Regions from separate parts of the Homo sapiens genome. Here all the other regions are linked to region 1. The links are contacts of gene promoters, found by promoter capture Hi-C in blood cells and fetal thymus (Javierre and others, 2016). All regions are on one chromosome and are shown on one strand. The core of a region is centred on a gene start or on the middle of the fragment in contact, and the rest is flanking DNA. Distances in the headings are between cores, read along the strand shown.

Region 1 (4,491 bases), core at 483-2,982:
GGGGCTTCGGGACCCCAGGTGGGCCCTGAGTGAGGAAACCTCAGGTGCCCTCAGGGAGACAAGGAACTTGGAGAAAGTGATCGCAAAAACAACAACAACAACAAAAACAAACCAGTTCCTCCGAAGAAGGGCAGTAATGCGGACCCTTAGGTCACAGGACAGAGGCTGGTTAAGGAAGCCTTTATTGATTCCAGAGGGTTCCCCCGCCAATATTTATTTTTATTTTTATTTTATTTTTGGAGACAGGGTCGTGCTCTGTCCCCCAGGCTGGAGTGCAGTGGCACGATCAAGGCTCACTGCAACCTCGACTTTCAGGGCTCAAAGGATCCTCCCAACTCAGCCTCCCGGGTAGCTGGGACCACAGGTGCGGGCCACCACACCAGGCTAATTTGTGTATTTTTTGCATAGACGGGGTCTCACTATGTTGTCCAGGCTGGTCTCGAACTCCTGGGCTCAAGCGATTCTCCTGCCTCGGCCTCCCAAAGTGCTGGGATTACAGGCGTCAGCCACCATGTATGGCCATTTCCCCAGATTGTTTCATATTCCTCTTTTTCTCGCTCAGCCGGCATAGAACATCCCCCTTTACGCCTGGGACTTCATAGCTAGGCACTTGCATAGGTACGCAGCGCCCACAGTGAGGAGGATCCCTACAAGGGCAGCGATGGAACCGGAGGCCAAAGCTGTGGGCGCGGGGCTCCAAGCTGGGAGCAGAAGGCGAGAATTAGGAACGGAACACAGGGAGGTCTGTCGACCCGCGTGGAGCTCACGCTTGGTCTGTGCGCCCTCTCGGGGTCATAACTCTCTCTGCCCCCTTCCTCCTAGTCCCCAGGGTTACAGGGGTGCCTCACCGAGCATCAGTGTAATGGGTGCCGAGCTGTTGCGGACCACCAGGCCGTCGAGATTGAGGCGCGCGTGGCAGATCACGGGCTGCCAGAAGTCGCGGGGTCCAGCAGCAAACTCGTAGGTCAAGGTCACGTTGGCCAGATCCAGGCCGGTGAAGCGCTCCAGGCTTTCGGAATAGATGACCCGGCTTCCATGCCTCAGGGTCACCACCAAGTAGCCCACCGGGAACACCTGCGTCACGTGGCAGCGCAAAGTGTATTTCCTGCCCTTTAAGACCGGAGGCTCCAAAATCACGCTGTGGGGCGGTTCTAAGGCAAGGGGGAGCCTCTGAGTGAGGTCCGCGGGCGCTCCCTATAGAGCGACTGTCAACTACCCTTCCCCCACCTCTTCCAGCCCCCTCCCCTCACCCCAGCCGGGACCGAGCCCCTGTCCCTCACTGTAGGCGGTGATCCTGGAGGTGGCCCAGCGTGTTTTTCCTGCGCAGGTCACGAGGCAGTGCGCGAGGGAGCTCCAGGCCCTCACGTCGAGCAGCTGGTAAGACACCCAACCCGGCCCTCTGAGCGTCTTGCCTTGCCGCAGCGGGGTGCGGAGGCTGGAATTCTGCGGCTGGGGACAGCTGTTGCTGCAATTGAGCTGCACTGACTTCCCCGGCTGCACAGCCACGAACTCCGGGCTCATGCGCACCCAGAAGGGCACTGAGGTCCCGGAGGGCGCGAGAGGGCTACCCTTGGGGCTTTGCGCCCGCTTAGTCCGGCGTCCCAGCGCGCTCCCAACTCCCGGGTAGGCGGCCGCCAAAAAAAACAGCAGCGACAGAGGGAACAGAGACCCCATGGCAAAAAGCCCGGACTAAGGGGCCCCGCGCCAGAGAGCCAGGGCCGGCTCTAGAGATAAGGAGGCCCGCAGCCCCGCCTCCTCGACTCCACCCTGGAGAGGAAGGGGAGGCCCCAACAGAGGGCCCGGGAGTACTGCAAAAAGGGATTCCGCTCCCCAGGTCAAGAATAAGATTCCAGGCCTCATTAGAAACCAAATGTTTTTTTCTGGAGAGGAGTCTTTAGTTTTCACTAGAGACCCAGAAGGTCATAGAAAGTCCGATTTGGACCAGAACCTCAGGGTATGGCCATCAACCCACAATGTTTTCTTGGGGGAGGAAGTGGGAGGATCAGGCTGTGGCTGCTTAGAAAGGACTCCAGCTGGATGTGACACCTCCCCTCAACTCACACAAGGCTGAGGCAGTTGAGAAAGCTTTATTAACTAACACAAAGGAAGTCTGGGCAATGTTGCGAGACCCCGTCTCTGGAAAAAAAAAAAAAATCAAATTTGCCAGGTGTGGTGTTGTGAGCCTATGGTCCCAGCTACTCAGGAGGCTGAGGTGGGAGGATCACTTGAGCCCAAAAGGTCAAGACTGCAGTGAACCATGATTGCACCACTGCACTCCAGCCTGGGTGACAGAGCGAGAGCTTGTCTACACATACACACACACACACACGCGGATGAGGCTTCCAAAGCTGGGAGGGAGTCCTCCAATACCTTGGCCCCCTTCCCCACTGCTTGCAGGACCCTGATCACTGCAGGAAACTGGAGCTGCATAGTGCAAGCTCCCAGTGAAATGCAAACAGGACAAGAGGACAAGGCATAGCTTGGGCATATTCCCTGGGCACTCATGTCCAGACATGACCGCTGAGTGTCATTGTGAACACTGGCAGAAATGTATGTGGGTGGGGAGGTGGCTAACAAAGGTGTCAGTTTTGGGGGGAAGGGAGGAATAAGGCCTCACTGGGTAATCTCTGAACCTGTAACCATTACCAGTCCATATAGTGCTTTTGTGCCGATAGAAAAATCACTCCTTCTGGGGAAAGGCAGGTTGGCCAATGAGAAGTCCCAGCCCCATTTGATCTTTTTGCCAGGCACTCTCCTGCAGTGTACAACCTGTACAACTGTACCTGGTGACCTTGAATGTGATTAGGACTGGGAGCTCCGTGAGGCCAGAGACCTATGTTCATTTAGCCTACATAAAAGACACTCAATAAATAGCTGGTAAAATAACAAATGAATAAATACATATCATCAAGGGTTGGGGTCAGTAGACAGCAGTGCCCAAGCTGGCATCCGTCAGGAAGTGTGGGCCTTTGTGTTTTGATGCTACACATGTCTATGGAGGGCCACTTCTTCTGTAAGTCTGTGGGGCCTCAGCATACCCAATAGGCAGCAAGTTTCAGTATTTCCCAGTTGTATGTCCTCATGGTGGGGCTATGTCTCCCCCACCACTTCCCCTCTCATCAGGCTAGACTTTAACATCCATCAATCATGTCTTGAGTCTTGCTCCTTCCTCTTGGCTTAGTCATGTGACTACAGATCAGATGCGTGGCCTAGTGTTTTAGGTGTGCAGGTACCATGGCCCCAAATGCTGTTGTATCTGACTGAGGACAATGCCCTGTCCTCCGGCGTCCCAGGGCCGGTAGGTGTAGCTGCATGGCATATGTCTTCCACTCTGTTCAGTGTGGCACCACTGCCACCAATATGGGAAGGCCGAGGAAGAGGCCCTGTCCCGGGATAGGTTCAGGGAGGCGTGGCTTGTGTGTTCGGTTTCATGGGGGTCCCTTTTTGGGCCTGTTGTAGTCTGTATTTCTTGATCTTCCGCTGGCGGTTATAGAGGTACGTGCTGAGGCCTGCAGTGCCCATTATGACTGCGGCTGCTACCACAGTGATGATGACAATCTCATACCGGGGGGCTGTGGGGAGGATACAACAGGCGGTGAGGATTGCATTAGGTCCATGGCCCCTGCCCCCACCCAGCTCTGCCCGCCGGCTCACTCACAGAGCACATTCACGGTCACCTTGCGGGTGACCTCCCCTTGAGTGCTCCTGGCCCGACAGAGGTAGGTGCCCTCAAGATCTCGAGTGACAGTCACTGATTCCCCGATGGGCAGTGGGAAAGTGCCATCCTTTAGACACTTGAGCTCGGGCAATGGGTTCCCCCAAGCCTGGCACATTGGAGTCTGCTGGGAATTTTCTGGCCACGTCCAGTTTCCCGGACAATCCCTCTCGTCCAGTCGGGGGCCATCTGGAAAAACACGATGAGATGACATGGAGGTGGGTGGGGGCAGGACTTGGAGGCAAGACCTTATGGGACCTTCAGGGAGATTGGGCCTTGGGGGATAGGGGCCATTGACCAGCAGCCCCACTCACACAGGACACGAAGCTCCCGGGTCTGGTTCTTGTGTATAAGCTGGCCGGCCACCTCCAGGGTTGCAGAGCAGGAGAAGCTGCGCCCGTTGTCCTCTGGGGTGGCCTTCAGCAGGAGCTGGGCCCTCGGGCCCAGTGGCTGGGCTGGAACCCCATTCAGCGTCACCTTGGCTCTAGGGTGGGCCTCACACTTCACTGTCACCTCGGTCCCTTCTGAGACCTCTGGCTTCGTCAGAATCACGTTGGGCGCCGGAAAGCCTGGAATAGGCACACAGTGAGCCCCGCCCCGGGTTCAGGTCACACCCCCAAGAAGCCCCACTCCGCCCCTGCCCCTTCTTACTGTAGATGGTCACTGTCTGCAGTGTCTCCTGGCTCTGGTTCCCCAGTATTACTGCACACGTCAGCCGCTGGGTGCCCTCGTCCTCTGCGGTCACACTGACTGAGGCCTTGGCCGAGAAGGAGTCG
Region 2 (4,491 bases), core at 973-3,472, 390 kb before region 1:
CTTCAGGGTGAGCCTTCACAGGACCAGATGGATAAAGCAGCAGCACTAGTGGAGGTCTGCACCTTCCTGCTTTTTTACCTATTTAGCTTCTAAAATTTTTCAACACTGATTTTAAGCAAGGTCTCGCTCTGTTGCCCAGGCTGGAGTACAGTTGCTCACTGCAACCTCCGCCTCCCAGGCTCAAGCCATCCTCCCATCTCAGCCTCCCAAGTAGCTGGCACTACAGGTGCGCCACCACACCCAGCTAATTTTTGTATTTTTTGTAGAGACGGGGTTTCGCCATGTTGCCCAGGCTGATGGTCTCAAAACTCCTGAGCTCAAGCGATTCTCCCGCCTCGGCCTCCCAAAGTGCTGGGATTACAGGCGTGAGCCACCGCGCCCGGCCTGTACCTTTCTTCTGAATCTTCTTCTTCTTTTTGCTGGGCGACTTCTCCTCCCCGTCCTCCTCCATTGGGCGTTTCATGGGCGTAATGGCATAGGTGGTGCTTGGTGGGATCTGAACTGCAAGGAGAGACCAGGGCATGGCTGGGAGATGCAGATGGTGACTCTTCCTGGAGCCCCAGCCATCAGGCAACCGCCGCAGGCTTACCGGTGTAGTCCACTGGGTTTTCATTCTTTGGTTTCTTGGGCATCTTGGAAGGCAGAGGGTCCATGCCTAGGACTTTATGGAGCTGGCCGAAGGCAGCGAGCCGCAGTGCGTGCTGGAGAAGGGGAAGAGGCTCTGACTCAGCTGCCCTGTGCTCCCGGCCATGGAGTGTGTGCTCACTACTGCCTTCTGAGGAGGGGCAGAGCTGAAGGGCTGCTAATGGTCTCCCTTACGACAGCAAGGGGTCCCCCACCAGCCAGGGGAGAGCCTGACTGCTCAAGCCCAGCCTTGCTGTGGGGGAAGGCCAGCCTGTGACCACCCCCCTTCCAAAGGAATACAGGAGACCCCAACCTGGGGACTGGTTGCCACACGGAGCCATGTGGGGGCCTGCAGGGGAAGGTCCCCCCGGAGCAGTCCGCACAGCAAACACATCTCCCAGCACCACTCACAGTGTCTGAAAACGGCACTCGAGCAAGCCAAGGGAGGGGGCAGATGAAAACCACGCATGGCACCAGGGGAAAGAAGCAGCCCAGATTGGGGCGCCCTGTATCAGACACAATCCTTTTGCCTTCAGTCCCCGACCTGAGCCTACGAGTCCAGGGGCTACCCTGGGAATACCCAGTAATGGAACTGGAAGCCAGTGATTACAGACTGGGTCAGGGCGCACGTTGGCAATGGCGATGACTATACCTGCGCACTCTGTGTGATATCTTCCCGTTGCTGTCTGTCTAGATGCCCAATAGCATCAGTGGCTTCTTTTTCACAAGGGTCATAAATGCCAGAACCATCTGAAGGCAGGAAACAAGGAAGATATGCAGAGGATTATCTTTTAGCATCTCTGAAGAGGTGTGCTGGCTGAGGGAACTAGGTGTGTTACCCCCCGCGCCCCATCCACACCCAGCTCTGGAAAACATGCCTAGCTCGGTGACCCACTCGGCGTCCAGCCCTTGACAGAAATAATTCACAAGTGTCTCAGAGCAAGAAAGTCACGTGGGAGTGGGTCACCACTGCCCCGGATCCGCCCTCTGAATGACGGCTGCGGACCCGGTCAGGGCTGGATATGATGGTGCCAGAGGGTAGTCACATGCTTCAGCTCTAGGGGGTGGACACGGGGCTGCTGCTGTCCTAACCCAGTCAGTGTACCCGCCAGGAGGCGGCCTGGAACCCTGTCCTTTCCCTGCAACCTGCAAAGCACAAGGCCCCAACCTGGCATCACGATGCCCGACGCCAGGCACTCCAGCACTCTCCGCAGGGCCTCGCCAGCACCCATCGGTCTGTTGGCCGTGCCAATGGATTTCTCACACAGGAGCTCGAGAGGCTGAAAGGGAAGAGGGACAGTGAGCCAAGAGCCTACAGGATGGGGCCGGCCGCCACTGGGGAGCTGTCACTGCATGAGTGGGTCGGGGCACACGTGGGACTCATAGCCAACCAGTCGGGTAAAGTCAAAGCCTCAGGGCTAAGCCTGAGCCAGGGCATCTAGGACAGGGGCCTTCAAGGACCAGACATGACATCCTAGCAGGCTGTGTGAGCTCAGAGACCAAGCTAAGGTTATGATGTAGTACTTCTTACTTAAAATCTAACCATTTATTTACAAATATAAAAACCACCTCAACTGCAAGCTGAAAAAAAAAAGGGTGCAACTGCCAAAAACTGGTCCTGCGTGAGACTATCTACAAACCTTCCCAGAGGGATCATTCCCACCTCCTGGTCAGCCCCCACTCCTGGGATTGAGCTGTGCGACCCTGCAGAGGGCCCCGACCCACACTGCCCCAACCCCAACCCCAGGTGTGGCAAGCAGGAGCAGCTCCACAGGCAGCTCTGGAGAGTACACACCAGCCACGCGTCAAGAGGCCACTCCTGCCCCGTGACCATCAAGTGTTCCTGGGATATCCAAAAGACTCTGCACACACCACCCCCAGTAGCCACAGCAACATGCCTTACCCAGCCTCGGAGGGGACCCCAGGTGGGCACGCGAGTGCACAGGTCCCTCAAGACCCGGATCACAATGACACAAGACTTCAGCCCGTTGGCTCTGGCCTAGGGGAACAAAACACAGGCTCTTCAGTCTGAGGCACCGCCCAGGGCACAAGTCAACATGAACGACACAAGTGTCAGGTTGCTGCTTTGCCAAGGGTAAACAGTCAACACTGGCGACCACCAAGGCTGTGGCCAGCCGCAATGTCACTACGTGTACAAGAGAGTGTTACTCTTAACACAAAGCAGCAGCAGCAGCAGCAGCCCACCAACTCAGTCTCAGCCTCTTTTGGGGTCGAATTTGTTGAGGTGCACTCCTTTAGGACCTGCGCAGCTGCAGGTGCTAAGCTCGGCACGGCTATCGTCAATGTTAAGGAATCTTTATGGTGACAGTTAGCCAAGTTAAAACTTAGGAATTCTCTACCAAAAGACAAATAGAAGAACAAAATGCAAACCTGGAACCACTTGGCGTGTCGGAGGGACGCCAAGGCAGCAAGGCATTTCTGCCTGTCCAGAACGTCCGGGGGGTCGTTGACTGATAGCGTTTCTATTCATGGATGGAATAAGAAGACAAGGCACAGTTTGACCAAGGGGTTTCTGTCAGGTGGAAAGGGGATGTGGCAGCTTTCTAAAGGGCAGCTGAGTTTCCCAGAAGCTGAATTCATCTCCACCCTGGACCAGGGAAGGAGAAACTAGAGCACATTCAACTCTGCCCTGTGAGGAAATTGTAAAAATTGGAGGCCCCCTCCAAAAATAAAAAGAAAAAGAAAAAAGAAAGAAAAAGAAAAAATAAAACAAACATAAAAACAAAAGTGGGGAGTTATTCTAAAAGGAATAATCTCATGAGGGAGGGGAGAGATAGGTGGAGCCTATCTTCTAATCCTCTTCCCTTGCCTCCTCCCCATGTTCTCCCAATAAATTAGCTATGCTAAAATGTTCAATAGGAAAAAATTTAAAAAGGCCGAGGGAGAGGAAATGAACTCCCTCTCTGCATCACACAACAGCCATCCCAAGGCATCTGCAGCAAAGGGGACCAACTCCGCCCACCAGGCGGGACTGCCCTAGCCCCAGCCCTTGACAGAGAGAGTCCTGTTGGTCAAAGGTCCAGCGTCCCTACGTTGATCAACTAGAAGGGCTTTGGTAGTCGGAATCAGCTATGAGAACCAAAGGTAAACAGCAACAAGGGCGCTATGCCAGCCTATGCTGCGGCCAAGCAGAGCGTTTATCTTCTCTGCCATCTGCACACCAGGGGTTTGGATAAGGCCTGAAGACAGGCATGCGAGCGGCGGGCCATGGACTGCGAGCACATTATTAGCGTGAGGTCCAATGATGTGGTTTGAAAAATTGGACAACAGTTTAAAACTTTATCCAAAACTCTGTATCAGCTCTTTGTGCTTCTGTCACTTTAAATGATAAAAGAGCCATGACAGAGGACAAACGAAGAGGCCCTCAGCTCAGCTGCAGCACAGGCTGTTGGTAAACTCCAACGTGGTGCTCATGCAGAAACCATCTGGTTGTCTCATCTTTAAAACCATGGAATCACCAGGGACACTTCTCCACAGCCAGAGAATGGCTCCATAGAAAAGCAACTTCCACATTCATGTTTGAGAACGTTCAAGGATGAAGATAAAGGAAAATGGTGCAGTCCCCTATGAAAAGTGCTACTCACTTTTAGTGCGACTGTTTTGTCAAACTCCCAAGTACTCAAAGCCAACGGGAGATGTGATCTCAGAGTAAAGGTGGTCAATCTACACCGTATACCAAAGCAGTCTAAAACTGAATAGCACATTTGAATAGTGAGGGAACACCACATTTTCAAAGTCCTGCCGGCGTGTCTCGGCCTCCCTACCTCCAGCTAATACTTTCTCCATTTCTTCTCTGACAACAGGGGATGTCAGGTGGATGGTCAGGGACAATGGAGGCTCTTTTGT
Region 3 (4,491 bases), core at 565-3,064, 360 kb before region 1:
TCTTGGCTCACTGCAAGCTCCGCCTCCTGGGTTCACGCCATTCTCCTGCCTCAGCCTCCCGAGTAGCTGAGACTACAGGCGCCCACCACCACGCCCGGCTAATGTTTTGTATTTTTAGTAGAGACTGGGTTTCACCGGGTGAGTCAGGATGGTCTCGATCTCCTGACCTCGTGATCCACCCGCCTCGGCCTCCCAAAGTGCTAGGATTATATGCGTGAGCCACCGCGACCAGCCATTGTACAGTTTTTTGTGTAACTACAGTAGAGTTTTATTTTCAGAGGTGCATAATCATATTCTTGTTTTTCACATAAATTGATAAGTTATTCTGCACCAGGCTTTTTAATTTCATTTCCTGTGCCTCAGATCTGTCTCACAAATAGAGCTGGAAATTGAAGAAAGGTTTGGTAAGATGATTGGGGCATGCACTAAGATAAAATTGGTTAAAATGCCAGGGCATGGTGGAACACACCTGTAGTCCCAGCTACTCAGGAGGCTGAGGTGGGAGGATCATTTGAGCCCAGGAGGTTGAGGCTGCAGTGAACTGAGATTGGGCCACTGCTCTCTAGCCTAGGCAACAGAAGCCCTGTCTCAAAAAAACAAAAACAAAACCAAAAAATTGGTTAAAGCTTTAAATTGTTGAAGGTCACTGTGATAATAACGAATGTTAATAACAAAGCCTAGACTGGCTTTTTTTCGGAACAGGTCAGTTTTAGTGACTTGCTTGAGCTAACAGCACTGCCAAATGGCAGAACGAGGATGGTTACTAGTTTTCTGACTCCCAACTCCAGAGAGCCTAAGGTTACTTAAAACGCTTTTGAAGATCTCATTCCGCTAAGGCGTTTCTTGCCCCAGGGACCCCAAACACAGTAAAGGGCGGATAGGGTCATGATGACAAGCACAGTCTTTGGATCAAACCCAAACCTCCTAGGGTTTGATTTGGAGGAGGACTGATTCGGAGTTAATTCAACATCAAGGGGTTGCTTCAGTACCTGGCATGGAGTTAAAGCTTCAAAAACAGTAATGGTTATGATTGTTACCTCTTGAACGGGTGCCCCATCCAACCAGAACTTCCTGAAAAATGTTGTCTTGGCCAGGCATGCTGGCTCATGCCTGTAATCCTACACTTTGGGAGGCTGAGGCAGGGGGATTGCTTGAGCCCAGAAGTTCAAGACCAGTCTGGGCAACATAGTGAGACCCCATCTCTATGTTTTTTATCTATCTATCTATTTATTTATTTTTGAGATGGAGTCTCGTTCTGTAGTCCCAGCTAGGGTGCAGTGATAACAATCTCAGCTTACTGCAACCTCCAATTCCCGAGTTTAAGCAATTCTGCCTTAGCCTCCCAAGTCACTGGGATTGCAGGCGTACACCACCATGGTCAGCTAATTGTTGTATTTTTAGTAGAGACTGGGTTTTGCCATGTTGGCCAGGCTGGTCTCAAACTCCTGACCTCAAGTTATCCACCCACCTTGGCTTCCCAAAGTGCTGGGATTACAGGCATGAGCTACTGCACCCAGCCCCATCTCTACATTAAAAAAAAAAAAAGTTTTCAAGAATAAAAACAAAAAGAAGGCTGGGGGCAGTGGCTCATACTTGTAATCCTAGCACATTGGGAGGCCGAGATTGGTGGATCACTTGAGGTCAGGAGTTCAAGACCACCCTGGCCAACATGGTGAAACTCTGTCTTTACTAAAAGTACAAAAAGTAGCTGGGCATGATGGCTGGCATCTGTAATTCCAGCTACTCGGGAGGCTGAGGCACGAGAATCGCTTGAACCTGGGAGGTGGAGGTTGCAGTGAGCCGAGATCAAGCCACTACAGTCCAGCCTGGGTGACAGGGAGACTGTGTCTAAAAAAAAAAAGAAAGGGCCAGGTGTGGTGGTTCACCCTCTAATCCTAGCACTTTGGGAGGCCGAGGCGGGTGGATCACTTGAGGTCAGGAGTTCGAGACCAGCCTGGCCAACATGGTGAAACCCCATCTCTCCTTAAAATATAAAAAATTAGCTGGGCGTGGTGGTACGCACCTGTAATCCCAGCTACTCGGGAGGCTGAGGCAGGAGAATCACTTGAACCCAGGAAGCGGAGGTTGCAGTGAGCTGAGATTGCACCATTGCACTCCAGACTGGGGGACAAGAGTGAGACTTCGTCTCAAAAAAAAAAAAAAAGGAAAAAGAAAAAAATTTTTTGAAGTAAAAAGTTTTCAGCCCAACTTTCCAATAAACCCCATCCATCAGGTTCCTAGTCCCTGGTCACCGTAAAGGATGGAAGACACAAGATGCCATCTGCCCTGTCTTGCTGAACTGCTACCCTGACCCGACCTCGCACCTCTGCCCTTGTCCTTCCACCACTCAGTGGTCACAAACCCTGTATACAACACCATTCTCTCCTCCTTGCCTTAGTGACATCATCTGTCATCTGGCTATTCCTTCTCTCTTCCCTCCCTCCCACTCATTGGTTGAAGATTGAGGTCATCCCCCTCTTGTAATCTGTCAGTCTAGACAGGTCCTGTCACTCTCAGTGACTCTGCTGTCCTTACAGCCTCTCTATTCATTGTCTTCCTCATCTTGAAAGATTCCACCCACTCTCCCAATCACACCCAGTTAACTTCCCTCTCGAAAGCTTTTTGTCCTATGCCTGTTCCCTTCTTGCCCCCCCCCAGGGTGGACATGGGTGACCACTCTGGGATGGACACTGTGGGATGACCACAGTTGTTGGGGAACCATTCCTCTCCCTTGATCAAACTGTAGTCTAGATGGCAGGTCCCTGCTGCCTGACTCCCAAACTAGGCCCACACCTTGACTACAATGATTGACTCAATGATTTACAATGAGTAAATGATCATAATCAGGCTGGTCAGAGTCAGTGAGCTCCAGGCCTGAGACTTAGGAGCAAGAAAAGACTTTTCTGGCCCTCTAATCCCAACACTTTGGGAGGCCGAGGTGGGTGGATCAAGAGTTCAAGAGTTCAAGAGCAGCCTGGCCAAGATGGTGAAACTCCATCTCTACTAAAAATACAAAAATTAGCCGGGCATGGTGGCGGGCTCCTGTAATCCCAGCTACTCGGGAGGCTGAGGCAGAGAATTGCTTGAACCCAGGAAGCGGAGGTTGCAGTGAGCCAAGATCATGCCACTGCACTCCAGGCTGGGCGACAGAGCGAGACTCCGTCTCAAAAAAAGAGAAGACTTCTCATCTTAAAGCCAGGAAAATGTAGCTGCGTGCGGTGGCTCATGCCTGTAATCCCAGCACGTTGGGAGGCCAAGGCAGGCGGATCATGAGGTCAGGAGATCGAGACCATCCTGGCTAACATGGTAAAACCCTGTCTCTACGAAAAATACAAAAAAATTAGCCGGGGGTGGTGGCGGGCAGCTGTAGTCCCAGCTACTCAGGAGCTGAGGCAGGAGAATGGCGTGAACCCGGGAGGCGGAGCTTGCAGTGAGCCTAGATCGTGCCACTGCACTCCAGCCTGAGTGACAGAGCAAGACTCCATCTCAAAAAAAAAAAAAAAAAAAAAAAAAGGCCAGGAAAATGTATGATGTGTGTATTACTAGGTTTCTCCGAGAAAGCTAATAGGAGGTAGGTAGATGAGAGGGGATTTAGCAGAATAATTGGCTCATGTGATCATGGAGGCTGAGATGTCCTACCACATGCATTGACTGCAGACCCTGAAAAGCCAGCAGCTCCAGTAGCTGAAGACCCTGCAAAGCCAGTAGCGAGGCTCAGTCTGAATCCTAAAGCTTCAGAGCCAGGGACACCAATGGTGTAATTCCCAGTCCAAGGCCGAAGGCCTGAGAACCAGGGATCACTGGTATAAGTCTTGGAGTGTCAAGACAGGAGGAGAAGAGTGTCCCAGTTCTGAGGAGGAAAATGCTTTCTCTCCTTTTTCTGTTCTGTCGGAGCCCCAGCAAGTTGGATGGCGCTCACCCAGAAATAATGCTTTATCAGACGTGTTGCTCTGTCGCTCAGGCTGGAGCACAGTAGTGTGATCTCAGCTCACTGCACCCTCCACCCCCTGAGCTAAAGTGACCTTCTCACTTCATCCTACTGAGTAGCTGGGACAACATGTGCATGACCACCACACCCTGCTAATTTTCATAGTTTTTGTTGAGACAAGCTTTCCACATGTTGCCCAGGCTGGTCTCGAATTCAAGCTCAAGCGATCTGCCCACCTCGGCCTCCCAAAGTGCTGATTGCAGGCGTGAGCCACGGAGCCCAGCCACTGTTTTTTTTTTTTTCTTTGTCTTATTTTTACCACATCACAGCTCAAATCTGAGTATTTTCTAATCCAGCCAAGTTCACACCTAAAATTAACTATCACAGCACAGTGTGGTTGGAGGCAGGGAATATACCCAGATAAAGGAACTTGGCAGAGAGTGAAGCCAACCCAGAAGTGGAGCCAAAGCATGAAGCCAGAAAACACTATGGTGGTTCCTCAAAAAATTAAACATAAACCAGGCACAGTGGCGAGTGCCTGTCATCCCAGCTACTTGGGAGGC
Region 4 (4,491 bases), core at 1,415-3,914, 360 kb after region 1:
TAGCTGGGACTACAGGCACACACCACCACACCCACCTAATGTTTACATTTTTAGTAGAGACAGGGTTTCTCTATATTGTTGTTCAGGCTGGTCTCAAACTCCTGACCTCAGGTGATCCACCCGCCTCAGCCTCCCAAAGTGCTGGGATTACAGGTGTGAGCCACCGCGCCCGGCCCATGTATTCATTTAGAGAGCATTCATTGAGAGCCTTCTGTATCTCAAGCGTTGTACTATGCAACAAGCACTGGGTGGTAGTTTGTGCTTTCAAGGGGTGGAGTAGATTTAACTTCTGGAGGAGTTGAGTCTGGCTGTGTTGGGAAAAAACTTGTCATGACAGGAACATTTTATTCCCATATCTAGGGAACTCTTGTCTGAGAACATTGACATGTCCTCCCTGCCAAGGTGGAAGCCCATTCTATCTCTTTTTTTCTTTTTGAGATGGGGTCTTGCCATGGTGCCCAGGCAGGCCTCGAACTCCTGGGCTTAAGCAATTCTCCTGCCTCAGCCTCCCAAGTAGTTGGGATTACAGGTGCACACCACCTCAGTGTGTCTTGCAACTTCATCCATCCAGAGTGCAGCCACAAACCAAGAAGTCACCAGGAAAGAGCAGAGAGTAGGGAGAGTAGATTCCATGAAGACTGTATACAAAAGCTTATTCTCTTTCTCTCTTTTTTTTTTTTTTAGACAGAGTCTCACTCTGTCGCCCAGTCTGGAGTGCAGTGGCACGATCTCATCTCACTGCAACCTCTGCCTCCTGGGTTCAAGCAATTCTCATGCCTCAGCCACCCAAGTAGCTGGGACTACAGGCGTGCACCACCATGCCTGGCTAGTTTTTGTATTTTTAATAGAGACGGGGTTTTGCCATGTTGCCCAGGCTGGTCTTGAACTCCTGGCCTCAAGTGATCCACCCACCTTGGCCTCCCTCAGTGCTGGGATTACAGGCATGAGCCACTGCATCCAGCCTGGAAAAGGTTGTTCTTGTTGCTCCTGGGGACCCAGTAGACTCTCGGTCCCAGTTTACTCTTACTTTACACATAGTTCCAACAATCCTGGGCAGCTAGTAACTAGCCTTGCTTAATAGATGAGAAGACAGGTGTCATTGCACAAGAAGAAAGAAACAAAAAGGCAAAGCCAGTTCAGCCATCAAATGAAATGGCAAATAGCTTCTCACTTTTTAGGCTCTAAGAGAGTCCTGGTGAATCCCAGGAAGAATACATGATGAGCACATGGTGAGCCGGGTTCTTTTTAAATTTTATTTTGTTTTTTTTTTTTTAAGACGCAGGGTCTTGCTCTGTTGACCAGGCTAGAGTGGAGTGGTGTGACCACAGCCCACTGTAGCCTCAACCTCCTTGGCCCAAGTGATCCTCCTACCTTAGCCTCTCAAATAGTTAGGACTACAGGTGTGTACCACTACATCCAGCTAATTTTTCTCTTTCTTTTTCTTTTTTTTGGTAGAGATGGGGGTCTCACTATGTTGCCCAGGCTGGTCTTGAACTCTTGGCCTTAAGTGATCCTCTTGCCTCAGCCTCCCAAGGTGCTGGGATTACAGGCATGAGCCACAGGGCCCAGCTAATTTTTGTATTTTTAGTAGAGACAGGGTTTCACAATATTGTTCAGGCTGGTCTCGAACTCCTGACCTCAAGTGATCCGCCTCAGCCTCCCAAGGTGCTGGGATTACAGGCATGAGTCACTGCACCCGGCCCACATTGTTTCTGTTCCTAATTTCTCTAGTAATTTCTATGAGAAAGACACTGATAGAGGCACTCACTCACTCAGGAGGGACGTGACACAGTCCGCTCTGAATGGCTGTCAGTTGCCAAATTTGGGAGACAGATGCAGCCGACACATGGTACAAAGTGCCAGATGTCAAGAGTCAAGTGGGCTTCCTGGGGGAGGTGGCATTTGAGATGGGCCTTGAAGGATGAGCGAGTGAAGACTGGAGGGTGGACACAGAAGAAAGTCATTGGTCATGCTGACAAGACCTGGTGGGTTTACCCTTATTTTACATGATTCTAACCATGTTTAAAAGAGGGGAAGTTTCTGGAAATGGGAACTAGGGTAAGTGTGTGGTTGATGCCTATGGTGGGTGCAGATAGGAGAAGGGAAGTGAGCTTGAAAAGGTTGTGATCTGACTGTAAAGGCTTCGAAAGCTGGGTTAAGGATTTTAGAATTTATTTATTCATTTATTTATTTATATTTTTTTCGAGACAGAGCCTCGCTCTGTCGCCCAGGCTGGAGTGCAGTGGTGCGATCTCAGCTCACTGCAACCCTCCCCTCCCAGGTTCAAGCAATTCTCCTACCTCAGCCTCCCAAGGAACTGGGTTAACAGGCGCGTGCTACCACGCCTGGCTAATTTTTGTATTTTTAGTAGAGACAGGATTTCACCATGTTGGCCAGGCTGGTCTCAAACTCCTGACCTCGTGATCTGCCTGCCTCGGCCTCCTAAAGTGCTGGGATTACAGGCGTCAGCCACCGTGCTGGACCTTATTTATTTATTTTTAGAGATAGAGTCTTGCTCTGTTGCCCAGGCTGGAGTGCAGTGACGCGATCACAGCTCACTGCAGCCTCAAACTCCTGTGCTCAGGCAATCCTCCCACCTCAGCCACCTGAGTCACTGGGACCACAGGCGTGTGCCACCATGCCCACATAATTTTTTTTGTTTATTTTTTGTAGTGACAGGGTCTCACTATATTGTCCAGGCCGGTCTTGAACTCCTGGGCTCATAAGATCTTCCTGCCTCAGCCTCCCAAACTGCTGGGATTACAGGCGTGAGCCACTGCACTTGGCCTAGAATTTAGTGAGCTGGTAATAGTGACTCATAGAAGAGGTTGTGCATGTTTAAATGGAAGACTTTAAAAATTTTTAATTGTGGTAAAATACACATAATATAAAATTTATCACTTTAGTCATTTATTTATTTATTTATTTATTTTTGAGATGGAGTCTCGCTCTCTGTCCCAGGCTGGAGTGCAGTGGCGCGATCTCAGCTCACTGCAAGCTCCGCCTCCCAGATTCAAGCGATTCTCCCATCTCAGCCTCCGGAATAGCTGGGACTACAGGCGGCCGCCACCACGCCCGGCTAATTTTTTGTATTTTTAGTAGAGATGGGGTTTCACCATGTTAGCCAGGATGGTCTCGATCTCCCGACCTCGTGATCCGCCCGCCTCAGCCTTCCAAAGTGCTGGAATTACAGGCGTGAGCCACCATGCCTGGCCTAGAATTTCCATCCTTTTAAAGGCTGAATCATATTCCATGTATGGATATACCACATTTTGTTTATCCATTCATTCATCAATAAATAGACACTGGGTTGTTTTCAGCTTTTTTTTAAAAAAAAGTCTTAATGTTACAGAGGAGGTCTCTCTCCATCACTCAGGCTGGAGTGCAGTGGCACCATCACAGCTCGCTGCAACCTCTATCTCCTGGGCTCCAGGGATCCTTCCACCTCAGCCTCCCAAGTAGCTGGGACTACAGGTGCATGCCACCACGGCTGGCTAATTCTTAAATTTTTTCTGTAGAGATGGGGTCTTGTCATCTTGCTCAAGCTGGTCTTCAACTCCTGGCCTGAAGCAATCCTCTCACCTCAGCCTTCCAAAGTGCTAGGATTACAGGTGTGAGCCACCGCGCCCGGCCTGGTTGTTTTCACCTTTGGGCTTTTTTGAATAATACTGCTATGATCACGGGTGTACCAATATCTTTTTGAGACACTGAGTTCAATTCTTTTGTGTACGTATTCAGAAGTGGCATTGCTGGGCCAGGCGCGGTGGCTCACACCTGTAATCCCAGCAATTGGGAGGCTGAGGTGGGTGGATTGCTTGAGCCCAGGAGTTTGAGACCAACCTCAGCAACATGGTGAAACCGTGTCTCTACAACAAATACAAAAATTAGCTGTGCCTGTGGTCCCAGCTACTTGGGAGGCTGAGGTGGGAGGATTACTTGAGCCCAGGAGGTCAAGGCTGCAGTGCGCCATGATTGTACCATTGCCTGGGTGACAGGGTAAGATCCTGTCTCAAAAAAGAAAAAGTATTGCTGGGTCATATGGTAACTATGTTTTAAGTTTTTGAAGAACTACGATAATGTTTTCTACGGCGACTGCGCTATTTTACATTCCCACAAAGGGTTCCTATTTTTCCACATCCTCACCAACACTTGCTATTTTTGTCAAAAGCCTCTGACCACAACGTTTTTGTCAACTGAATAATATATAACTTTTTTTGTTTTGTTTTGTTTAGACAGGGTCTCACTCTGTCCCCCAGGCTAGAGTGCGGTGGTGTGATCTAGGCTCACTGCAGCCTCCGCCTTCCGGACTCAAGCCATTCTCCCACCTCAGCCTCCCAACACGCTGAGTAGCTGGGACTATGCACCGCCAGGCCTGGCTAATTTTTTGTAGAGCTAGGATTTCACCATGTTGCCCAGGCTGGTCTCCAACTCCTGGGCTCAAACGATCTGCCTGCCTCAGCCTCCCAAAGTGCTGGGATTACAGGCATGAGC
Region 5 (4,491 bases), core at 1,140-3,639, 310 kb before region 1:
CTTCCCAGTCCCCAGCACCTGCCGTTCTCACTACCTCCCTGGAGATGGTGGGAGGGAGGGCTTCCTAGGTCTTTCCAGGGTACCATGTGATTCACCTGGGGGTTGAAAGGAATCTGTCCCATATTGGGAATAACATTTATGATGCAAATATATATGTGTGTTTGTATACATAATAAATAAAAAAGTTACATTTCAAAATGAGAATTTTTAAAATAGTTTAAGAAAAAAGGTGGTGGTCCTGCAGATTATAATAAGAGTGACTGTTTACAGCCAGGAGTGGTGGCTCACATCTGTGATCCCAGCACTCTGGGAGGCAGGAGGGTCACTTGAGGACAGGAGTTCAAGATTAGCCTGGACAACACGATGAAAATCTGTCTCTAAGGCCAGACGCAGTGGCTCTCACCTGTAATCCCAGCACTTTGGGAGGCCGAGGCGGGCGGATCACCTGAGGTCGGGAGTTCGAGACCAGCCCGACCAACATGGAGAAATCCCGTCTTTACTAAAAATACAAAATTAGCCGAGTGTGGTGGCACATGCATGTAATCCCAGCTACTTGGGAGGCTGAAGCAGGAGAATCACTTGAACCTGGGAGTCAGAGGTTGCAGTGATCCAAGAGTGCACCATTGCACACCAGCCTGGGTGACAGAACGAGACTCGGTCTCAAAAAAAAAAAAAAGGAAAGAAAGAGTGAATGTTTATAGAAAGCTTAGTCAGTGTCAGACAAGGTATTAAATGCTTTATATATTTTTTTAACTCTTTTTCTTTTTTTTGAAATAGAGACCAGGTCTCATTAGCCTCAATCGATCTGCCCATCTTGGCCTCTTGAAGTGCTGGGATTACAAGCATGAGCCACCATGCTGGCCAAGCACCTTTTTTTTTTGAACCAAGGCTGCTGGAGGGCAGTGGCGCGATCTTGGCTCACCCAGTAAAGTGCTCTCTGTGTGTGTATGTGTGTGTGTGTGTGTGTATATAGTTGTTGTTGTTTGTTTTAGTTTTTGAGATGGAGTCTCACTCTGTCGCCAAGCTGGAGTGCAGTGGCGTGATCTCAGCTCACTGCACCATCTGCCTCCCGGGTTCAAGCAATTCTCCTGCCTCAGCCTTCTGAGTAGCTGGGATTACAGCACCCACCACCACGCTCAGCTAGTTTTTTGTATTTTTAGTGAAGAACGGGTTTCACTGTCTTAGCCATGATGGTGTCAATCTCCTGACCTCATGATCCACCGCCTCGGCCTCCCAAAGTGCTGGGATTACAGGCGTGAGACACCGCGTCTGGCCCAAGCACTCTGTATTAAATCATTATAATCATTTTCCAATTGGGGAAAGTGACCCAGAGAGGTGAAGTAATTTACCCACAGTAACATAATGAGCCCGTGGCTCTGCAAGGATCTGAACCCAGGGAGTCCGACTTTACACCCAAGACACACTTCCTTCCCCTTCAACCACATGCTTTCCGGAGTAGCGTCCAGGTCATATTGTTGAGTGATAATAGCAAGTTGTATTTTTTTTTTTTTATTTAAGACAGAGTCTCTCTCTGTCGCCCAGGCTGGAGTGCAGTGGTGCGAGCTCAGCTCACTGAAACCTCCTTCTCTTGGGTTCAAGTGATTTGTGTGCCTCAGCCTCTGGAGTAGCTGGGATTTCAGGTACGCACCACCATGCCCAGCTTAGTCTATATACATATATATATATATATATATAGTTGTTGTTGCTTGTTTGTTTTGTTTTGTTTTGTTTTTGAGACAGATTCTTGTTCTGTCACCCAGGCTCGAGTGCAGTGGCATGATCTCGGCTCACTGCAACCTCTGCCTCCTGGGTTCAAGCAATTCTCCTGCCTCAGCCTCCCGAGTAGCTGGGATTACAGGTGTCCGCCAGCATACCTGGCTAATTTTTTGTATTTTTAGTAGAGACAGGATTTTATCATGTTGGCCAGGCTTGTCTCAAACTCCTGACCTCAGGTGATTCACCTGCCTTAGCCTCCAAAGTGCAGGGATTACAGGCGTGAGCCACCACACCTGGCCAGTTTTTATATTTTTAGTAGAGACAGATTTTTTGCCATGTTGCCCAGGCTGCTCTTGAACTCTTGGCCTCAAGTGCCCCACCCGCCTCTGCCTCCCAAAGTTCTGGGATTACAGGTGAGAGCCACTGTGCCCATCCACAAGTTGTATAGTCTTATATGGTATGGGAGAAAGAGAGAGAAAGAGGGCAACACGCGCACACACACACACACACACACACACACACACAAACACACACACACACCCCCCTGCATGTAACCCAGCTGAAAAAGATCTGAATCAGCCAGTGGTTATGAGAGGGACGAAGATTGGGGTATGGGGGTGTCACAGGGGACTTTTTTTTTCTTTTTCTCTCACATCTCTGCTGGGAGGAACTTTTGCCTTTTCTTTAGTTTTGTTTTCTATTTTGTTTTCTCAGGAACTGGCTCAGCACAGTATTTTCTTAAGATAGGTTCTTGCTTTGTCACCGAGGCTGGAGTGCAGTGGTGCAACCATAGCTCACTGCAGCCTCAATCTTCTGGGCTCCAGTGATCCTCCCACCTCAGACTCCTGAGTAGCTGGGCATGGTGGCTTACACTTGTAATCCCAGCACATTGGGAGGCTGAGATGGGTGGATCACTTGAGGTCAGGAGTTTGAGACCAGCCTAGTCAACATGGCGAAACCCAGTCTCTACCAAAAATACAAAAATTAGCCCAGCGTGGTGGCAGATGCCTGTAATCCCAGCTACTTGGGAGGCTGAGGCAGGAGAATCACTTGAACTAGGAGAAGGAGGAGGTTGCAATTAGCTGAGATTGCGCCACTGCACTCCAGCCCCTGGGCGACAAAGTGAGAATCCGTCTCAAAAAAAAAAGAAAAAAAAGCTGGGCGCGGCGGCTCACGCCTATAATCCCAGCACTTTGGGAGGCTGAGGCAGGCACATCTCCAGGTCAGGAGTTCCAGACCAGCTTGGCCAAGAGACCAGCCTGGCCAATATGGCGAAACCCTGCCTCTACTAAAAATACAAAAATTAGCCGGGTGTGGTGGCAGGCACCTGTAGTCCCAGCTACTCGGGAGGCTGAGGCAGGAGAATGGCATGAACCCGGGAGGCAGAGCTTGCAGGGAGCTGAGATCGTGCCACTGCACTCCAGCCTGGGCAACAGAGCGAGACTCTGTCTCAAAAAAAAATAATAATAAAATAATAAAAGTAAATGAATAAATAAAATATAAAAAAATAAAATTAGCTGGGCGTGGTGGGGGGCGCCTGTAATCCCAGCTACTCAGGAGGCTGAGGCAGGAGAACTGCTTGAACCTAGGAGATGGAGGCTGCAGTGAGCCGAGATTGTGCCACTGCACTCAAGCCTCGGTGACGGTGAGACTCCATCTCAAAATAAATAAAAAAAAGAAAAGAAGAAGAAGAAGGAGGAGGAGGAGAAGGAAAAGGAGAAGAAGAAGAAGAAGAAGAGTGGGTGCCAGGGGTTGGGAGAGGGAGAAGGAGTGTTTCATAGGGAGAAGTTTTCCTTTGGGAAGATGAGAAAGTTCTGGAGATGGATGGTGGTGACGGTTGCATGGCCATTAATGTGCTTAATGCCACCGAACTGTGCACTTCAAAATGGCTAAGGTGGCCAGCTGTGGTGGCACGTGTCTATAGTCTCAGCTACTTGGGAGGCTGAGGTGGGAGGATGGCTTGAGACAGCAGGAGAGGAACTGAAATTCGGGCAGTTAGGGTGTCTGGGACAGCAGGTTCAGGTGGTGTCCTGTGGCAGAGGTCAGCAGGTGTCTGACTGTGCCAGGTGGGGGTGGTTGGAGGGCAATGGGGGGCCATAGAGGATGTGAGAGTGAGAGTCAAAAAATAATTGTGAGTTTCAGAGAGATCTCTTTAGTGGTGTGGAGAAGGGATTGTGGACAGGGCCTAGAGGCGTGGTCCCTGGGAGAGGCTGGAGGAGGCTCCAGGCATCCAGAAGGAACTAGGACAAGGCCACAGCCTCAGGGGGATGGGGGAGGCCGCCACTGAGGTGGGGCAGGCGGGGCAGGCAGAGCCAGCACACAGAGCTGCTCTGTTCTCTGACCCCAAGTAAGCTTTTGGGCTCATGAATTTTTCATGCCAAACAAGCCTGGAGTTTCAGATTCCAGGGCACTGGGCCCAGGCTTTCGGGTTCTGCTTACTGCCTGAAAACATCTCAGGGCCCCAGGAGATGAGTTCTTCATTTTGTTGTTGTTGTTGTTTTTGAGACAGAGTCTCACTCTATTGCCCCAGGCTGGAGTGCAATGGCGCAATCTTGGCTCACTGCAACCTCTGCCTCCCAGTTTCAAGTGATTCTCCTGCCTCAGTCTCCTGAGTAGGTGGGATTACAGGCATGTGCTACCACCCCCGGCTAATTCTGTATTTTTAGTCCAGACAGGGTTTCACCATTTTGGCCAGGCTGGTCTCAAACTCCTGACCTCAGGTGATCCACCCACCTCAGCCTCCCGAAGTGCTAGGATTACAGGCGTGAGCCACCA

What was found. Contacts are between HindIII fragments. The CHiCAGO score rates a contact against its expected background, and 5 or more counts as called.
Region 2: a contact is called between a fragment that was not itself captured here and the fragment with the promoter of ICAM4 in region 1, in 1 of 17 cell types (activated CD4 T cells). The highest score is 5.7, in activated CD4 T cells.
Region 3: a fragment that was not itself captured here is called in contact with the fragment with the promoter of ICAM4 in region 1 in 1 of 17 cell types (M0 macrophages); the score reaches 6.8 in M0 macrophages.
Region 4: a fragment that was not itself captured here is called in contact with the fragment with the promoter of ICAM4 in region 1 in 1 of 17 cell types (total B cells); the score reaches 6.7 in total B cells.
Region 5: a contact is called between a fragment that was not itself captured here and the fragment with the promoter of ICAM4 in region 1, in 1 of 17 cell types (monocytes). The highest score is 5.5, in monocytes.

The regions. Positions count from the first base shown.
Region 1 is chr19:10,284,196-10,288,686 of GRCh38, reverse strand. ICAM4 (intercellular adhesion molecule 4 (Landsteiner-Wiener blood group)) reads right to left here and starts at 1,732. Exons shown (of 3, transcript NM_001544.5): 1 at 1,281-1,732; 2 at 849-1,151; 3 at 167-701. The coding sequence starts at 1,674. The coding sequence ends at 583. ICAM1 (intercellular adhesion molecule 1) reads right to left here. Exons shown (of 7, transcript NM_000201.3): 4 at 4,367-4,491; 5 at 4,030-4,284; 6 at 3,659-3,904; 7 at 2,072-3,572. The coding sequence ends at 3,400. It overlaps ICAM4-AS1 (ICAM4 antisense RNA 1), which reads left to right. Exons shown (of 1, transcript NR_186335.1): 1 at 1-2,886. RefSeq lists enhancers at 1,605-1,744, 1,091-2,060, 2,115-2,164. The HindIII fragment of the contact is 2,558 bases long and covers 1-2,087 here.
Region 2 is chr19:10,677,229-10,681,719 of GRCh38, reverse strand. It overlaps ILF3 (interleukin enhancer binding factor 3), which reads right to left. Exons shown (of 20, transcript NM_017620.3): 5 at 4,410-4,491; 6 at 3,016-3,107; 7 at 2,528-2,623; 8 at 1,793-1,904; 9 at 1,277-1,374; 10 at 590-701; 11 at 391-501. Among named protein-coding and RNA genes, the nearest start is that of QTRT1, 22 kb to the left of the region's middle. The HindIII fragment of the contact is 7,906 bases long and covers 1-4,491 here.
Region 3 is chr19:10,646,499-10,650,989 of GRCh38, reverse strand. No RefSeq gene overlaps it. Among named protein-coding and RNA genes, the nearest start is that of ILF3-DT, 5.1 kb to the left of the region's middle. The HindIII fragment of the contact is 1,612 bases long and covers 1,009-2,620 here.
Region 4 is chr19:9,924,995-9,929,485 of GRCh38, reverse strand. The region is part of intron 1 of OLFM2 (olfactomedin 2); the gene reads left to right. Among named protein-coding and RNA genes, the nearest start is that of OLFM2, 9.3 kb to the left of the region's middle. The HindIII fragment of the contact is 4,021 bases long and covers 654-4,491 here.
Region 5 is chr19:10,593,657-10,598,147 of GRCh38, reverse strand. It overlaps the pseudogene LSM2P1. Among named protein-coding and RNA genes, the nearest start is that of AP1M2, 8.6 kb to the right of the region's middle. RefSeq lists enhancers at 2,316-2,505, 3,980-4,491. The HindIII fragment of the contact is 3,363 bases long and covers 708-4,070 here.